2 separate regions of the Homo sapiens genome follow, and region 1 is linked to region 2. The links are contacts of gene promoters, found by promoter capture Hi-C in blood cells and fetal thymus (Javierre and others, 2016). All regions are on one chromosome and are shown on one strand. The core of a region is centred on a gene start or on the middle of the fragment in contact, and the rest is flanking DNA. Distances in the headings are between cores, read along the strand shown.

The links. The method cuts DNA at HindIII sites, captures the fragments that hold promoters and counts their contacts. A CHiCAGO score of 5 or more calls a contact.
Region 1: a contact is called between a fragment that was not itself captured here and the fragment with the promoter of CNTNAP2 in region 2, in 1 of 17 cell types (megakaryocytes). The highest score is 6.2, in megakaryocytes.

Annotation. Positions count from the first base shown.
Region 1 is chr7:148,139,814-148,143,036 of GRCh38, reverse strand. All of the region lies in intron 16 of CNTNAP2 (contactin associated protein 2), which reads right to left. Among named protein-coding and RNA genes, the nearest start is that of C7orf33, 450 kb to the left of the region's middle. The HindIII fragment of the contact is 2,563 bases long and covers 240-2,802 here.
Region 2 is chr7:146,115,122-146,118,421 of GRCh38, reverse strand. It overlaps CNTNAP2 (contactin associated protein 2), which reads right to left and starts at 1,621. Exons shown (of 24, transcript NM_014141.6): 1 at 1,449-1,621. The coding sequence starts at 1,545. The HindIII fragment of the contact is 7,089 bases long and covers 1-3,300 here.

The sequences.
Region 1 (3,223 bases), core at 272-2,771, 2.0 Mb before region 2:
GAAAAGAGAAATACTAAAAGAGAAATACATAAGGTGGCATATTGCCATCAGAAAAGAATATAGGTGGAAGAAATTACTTTCTAATAAAGCAGGCTCATGACTTCATCTGAAAGGCTTAAAGTAATGATTGGGACAAAACCATGGAGAGCTCTTGGCATGTTCACGCTTCCCCTTCCAAGTGTAATTCCAGCAGGTGGCACTATTTGCTCTCATTCTAACTCAACAAATCACTCCAAGCTTAGTATATTGAGCGATAAATTTAACAACTGACCAATACCAGGTGTTTTTGGCTCTAAGTTTTCTCAGCAGGTGAGGGAGCATTTAGATATTAGACCACAGTTTCAGTTGAAGTAGCAGAAAAAATTTGGCCATTCAGTACAGAACAGGATAAGAGAAAAGAGAAGGAAAGTTATATAGCATGAGCATGATGGGCAGACCAGCTAACACTGTTTAGTTTTGGTAATGATACGTTTTTTCCATTCTAAAATAAGGTTCGAGGGGTGGCAGCTTCCTGGGGGATCTTCTGTACAATAAATCTCATTTGAGTCATACAACAAAACTGGTAATTGGTAGAACAGATATTTCAGCCTCACTCTATGGTGAACAGTGTTATCAATATCTTTTTTTGTTTCCTGTATTTTTTTTCTGAATGAAGTACTAACTGTACATCAGAAGATAAAAGGATTTATTTAACACGAAAGGGTCATGAGAAGAGGCAGGAAGGCTGAAAATAAGGTCGCCATGGGAATCAGAGAGATAAGGAGAAAGAAGTAAAGAGTTCATCTATGTTCCTAATTCAAGGCCAACTGCTGCACCTATACACGGGATGCCATCCTTCCTACCAGCTCAAGGACACCACTCTGACAATTCTCCCCTCCCTCTACAACTGGGTTGTTATACAAACACACACACACACACACACACACACACACACACACACACAGAGACATATCTCTACTCTTAACAACCACTGGCACTATAAAACCTTTCTTTTGACCTTATCTATCCCAAAAGTTACCATTTCATTTCTATGCACCCTTTTGTTTCCAAATTCCTTGAAAGAGATGTCTGTACTCCCCATATCTATTTCCACTCCTCTTAGTCTTCCTCTAATTCCACCACATAGGACTTTCTCCTTCACAACATTTGAAACTGCTCCTGCCCCAGGGCCTTAGAACTTGCTGTTCACTTTACCCAAATAACTCTGTGGCTGAGCGTTTACTTCTCTGCTCACAAGTCATCATATTAGAAACTCCATCCCTAAACATTCTATGTTAAATAACAAACTTCGCTCTCAGCTGTCCTTTCCCCTTTAATCCTGATTTTTAAAAAGTCTGCATAGCATGTATCACTATCTGGAATAATATATATGTGGTCCTGGCCTCAGGAAGGCAGAGGCATTTTCTGTTTTGTTCATTGTTCTCTCCTCAGCACTGAGAACATTGCCTGCCACACAGTAGATACCAATTTGTGAATGAATGAAAGGATGAATAGAAACTACTCCTGCCTAGGAAGGCAACAGTGATCACATGGATACTCTGAAAAGAGAAATCCACTCATTTTCCCAAGGCCAGCCGAACTAGATGGAGTTCCATCTTGTATTCCACAAGCATCTTTCCCAAGAGCACAAAGTAACTCAATGAATATTTTCTCAGTCTAAGAGCATGCTACATTAGTTATGTCTGTTTAAAACAAATGTAGCTAAACGTTATTTTCAAACATATGATGTTTGAGGACTAATGGCTTGCCCAAGATAAACTCACCAGTGGAATAAGAAGCAGAATTTTCTCCCTTTGCTTTATTGCATGCTAGTTTCACTCTACTTGTAGGAACAGGGACCTTGGATCTTAATTACAATTCTCAAGTTTTGGCCTACATAAAAAACTGCTAAAGGAAAATGCTTAAAATGCATATTCCAATGCTTCTGTTACAGAGAATCTGATTCAGTAGGTTTGGGGTGGGGCTTTGGAGTCTGCATTTTGTTAATGCCAGGTGATTCTGACGCAAGTGGTCCTGGAATCTTACTTTAAGAAACATTAGGAGTTTCAGGTTTCCTTCTAGTAGTAAGTCCTAGGAATCTTTGCTTTCTTGTCCTCAACAGAGAGATTTTCAGAACTGTGTAATAGAGAATTTAGCCTTGCCCTCAAGAGGTCTGGCCCTTGCCTTTGGCTTTGGGAAGGTAATATCTAAGCCCTTGGGATGTCCTGCCTGGTAAGCATGTCTTCATTTGCCTGGGAGCCTTGGGTTATTCCAGATAGTCTAACATTGTGTTTTAGGGGTAGGGCCACACCAGATGGCATTTAAGATGGGGCCTGGGCTGGGTGTGGTGGCTCATGCCTGTAATCCCAGCACTTTGGGATGCTGAGGCGGGTGGATCACCTGAGGTCAGGAGTTCGAGACCAGCCTGACCAACATGGAGAAATGCCATCCCTATTAAAAATACAAAATTAGCTGGGCGTGGTGGCAGATGCCTGTAATCTGGCTACTTGGGAGGCTGAGGCAAGAGAATCACATGAACCTGGGAGGTGGAGGTTGTGGTGAGCCGAGATGGTGCCATTGCACACTCCAGCCTGGGCAACAAGAGCGAAACTCTGTCTCAAAAAAAAAAAAAAAAAGAAAAAGAAAAAAGATGGGGCCTTACCATGCCAGATTGACCAACAATGTGATGAAGGGTGTGGGGCTTTGGCTTATATTCTCCAGCCTTCTGAGGGGCTGGAAACTGAGGTCAGCCATGTGGGCAATCAATCATTCCTATATAACGGAGTCTCAGTAAAGACTCTGAACATGGAGGCTCAGGAAGCTTCCCTCATTGGCAATACCCCATGCAAATTGTTACACACCCGTTCCAGGAAAGAAATGTGCTCCTGAATCTATATAGAGAGGTTGACTGTAAACTCAGCATCTGGTACTGTTCCTGGACTCTGCCATCTGTGCTTCTACCCCTGTCTGATTTTCACGTGCATTCTTCACCCATAATGCAGCATGAGTATAGCAGCCTTCGGCAGCAGAATTCAGTGAATTCTGTGAGTCCTTCTACAGAACTATCAAACCTGGGGGTGGTTTGGGGAACTTCTGAACTTGCAATTGGTGTCAGAAGCATATGCAGTCTTATGGGGAATGTGGTCTCTCTAAATTTGCAACTGGTTGTAACTCCACAAAAACAGAAACAATCACATCAGCTTAGAAGTATGTGATTGAGGCTGAGCACGATGGCTCATGCCTG
Region 2 (3,300 bases), core at 372-2,871:
AATATCAACAGCAAGCATTATATCCCCAAAATTTGTTTAAATTTATAAAATTGACATAAATATTAACAATATTTAACTCTTTGTGATTTAACTTGTGTTATAAAAAATGCTATACAATGTTTTCAAGTTCATTACAAACTTAGATTGCCAGTTAGTTTATCTCCTTATCTTTACACATTGTGGGAAAAGAAAAGCTAATACTGTACTTAGGAAGATATGTCAAAACAGTAATACTGGCTCATAACCGGATATTATATAGTAGATTCCTTATTACAACTTATAATGTCCTTTTTCAATGCTATTCCTGTTGATATTTACCACTACAATAAGATCATTATTAACAAAGATGCATTAATACATCCCAAAATCTTAGAAACAAAGACTACTTCGCATATGACGAATTCTGGAAAATATTAAACTTTTCTTTTCCTAAATGGACAAAAAAATCTTCCTTTTAAACTCTGAAATCTCCACGATAATTCTTTATCAACTTACTCATTCTCAGAAACTAGTATGCGCTTATGAATATTATCCTAAGATTCCTATAGGCAGTCTTTCTAGTGTTTAACTCTTTCTGAACCAAAGGAACAATCATGCATTTCCTCTCTACATGCACAGTATGCACTTCTAAAGGAATGCAGAAAATGGGCCAGAATCTTCCATTTCTTTCTAAACCTCATGAAAACAGGGGCAGTCTTAAACACACACACACACAAACACACACACACAGTTGATTAAAATGCAGAGATATACATATTGAATATAATTATTTTCCTGAAAACCCTATTAAGAATCTGTTTATTACTACATTAACGACGCTTTGCACTGAGTGTCCCAAGTACCGTACTGCATCAGTCATATCCATGATATCAAAGTATCAAAGAATTAAAGCAATTTCAGTTACAATTTCGCTGCCTTCCATTTTAATAAGCAAGTACTAAATGGGCATTAACTTTTTAAGGGAACGGGAGAGGTTAAAGAGACCCTATAGGTGCCCAAACTGTTTAAAACATGCTCCTCTTGTTAACCTCAACCCCGTGCTCATTAAGTTATAACCATAAATAAAAATAAGAAACTTGGTTTTGCCATGGTCTTCACTTTTCATTCACTGACCTACCTAAGCCAAATGCAGTTAACTCTCCCTGCACAAACAACTCCTAAGAAGCTGCCATCTACATCAGTCTCTCTAGCCAAGCTCTTGCCAACCGATCACCAAGACCAGGAACAACTTTCCAGAAACATCACCAGCGTCACAACCCTGTCTCTTCCAAAACAGAAACGCTGGGTTTCGAGTTTGTCTACTGCAGTGGCTGCAAGTGTGTGACAGCGGAGACACAAACACATCAGGGTGCCAGCACTGCGATGCACTTCGGAGTTGATACCCTGGTGCCAAACATCAATGCCGCACTGAAACTGCTCCAGAGCAGAGCGAGGAGACGGCTACTTACGGGACGTGGAGGGAGCCGTCCAGGCTCTGCAGAGGCAGCTGCTGACAATCCACAGCAGGAGCGCTGCCCCGCAGCCGGCGCGCGGAGCCGCCTGCATCCTTCGCCTCCCGGCCGGCGGCGCTCCAAGAGCTCGCTGCGGAGATGCAGTCCGACTCTCCGTAGGGTTCTTGAAGGGAGATGGGCTGTCCTCAAATACGCGAGGAAGCCAAGCCCCTCCCGCTTCCTCTTCTCCCCTCACCCCCCTCCAGGCTCCAGTTCTTCCGGGCTTGGAGCGGCAGGGGAGTCTCAGCCTTCGTTCTCCCTCCGTGCGGGTATTGCCTCTTGCACTGTGTGCCAGTGCAACGCCGGGGGAGGAAATTCAAACCAAGAAGGCAAAGGAGGGGGAAGAGGGGAGGGAACGGACACCTACCCCGCCCTCTCCTTCTTGAAAAAAAAAAATCACCAAAGGACGGGGGAGGGAGGTAATCAGAAGAGCAGAGGCTGCAGAAGAGGAAGGCAGAGCGACGGGGACGGTGGTGCAGCTGTTGCCACTGCGGGCGAGCGCTCCCTCCGCCGCCGGGCAGCGTGACTCGAGGGGTTTCCACTCGCCTGTCAGCTCACATGGAGAGCTTGTGTATGTGGGGAGCGCGCAGCGCAGCCGGGGCGCACGCACGGCCTCAGCGCTGCGCCGCGCGAGGAAGCATCTCCCGGGCGGCGGAGCGCGAGCAGCAGCAACAGCCGCGGAGAGCAGGAGACGCCGCCGCCGCCGCCGCCGCCGCCAGCTCCTGTGAGCCCGGGCGGCGAGCGAGGCGGAGGGAAGCCCTCCCTTCTCTTCCCTTCTCGGTTCCCTCCTCGGCTCCTCCTCCTCCTCCGCCTCCTCCTCCTCTTCCTCCTCCTTACCGTACCCCTCTGGCTGTCAAAACCCTTCTGCCCTGCCCTGGCCTCGTTTGAAAGCAAAAGGGAGACTGAGCCGACCGGCCGGGGTCCATCAGCTGGGGCGGGGGCGGAGCAAGGAGGCGCGCGCCTCTCCCTGGGCGGGAGGTGATGCTGTCCGCGGTGCTGAAGTTGGGGATTTGCCGTGTAATCCTAGAACCCTGCTCCAAACCTGGCTGCCCCCTACCCGGCTGCAGGAAGGAGAACACCCTCGCTCGGATGCCTTCTCCTTTCCTTCTCTCCTCCCCTTCAGATAAAGATGGTACAGGCTCCTGGAGCTCCGGCCCCCCGGGAACCACAGTCAGGCGTCCGACAGGCAGGTCTTCCGAGTGGTCCTAACACCAAGTGACGGTGCTAAACATCCCGACTGACTGGAGCAGGGAGGGAGGACTGCAGATGCCGTTAATGCACATGTTTTCGATATGTAATTAATTCGTACTCATACATATGCACACGTACACCAAACACACGCTGCTGCCAGGAGAAACTACACTTAGGCAAACACGCATACAAACACAAACACAAAACGGAAATACATAAGCAGGCATATGGGTAACTATTTCAAGGTACCTGAGGCATTGCAAGCACTAAGAATTAAGAATGTTTAGAGAGACCTAGATTTTTTCACATTTAGATAATTTTAATAATAATTATCAAGCTCTTCTCCCCAGCTCACAGCTCTTCACACTCTACCCTCCATATGTTTTTCTTCCATCTAGTCTACTTAAAGTATTTGAATTCTTATGTCTCTGCAGAGCCAAGCATTCCACTGACTTTATTGACACAATTAAAAATTATTGGTCATCTAAATATCTAATGATGTTTGTGGAGGACTAAGTAGGAGTAACCATGTCTTTCGATGTTATGCAATGAATAAGCATTTGCATTTAAAGATAAATAGAAAATTTATGGAGGCTTGCCTAATCCTGGAATAAACTGA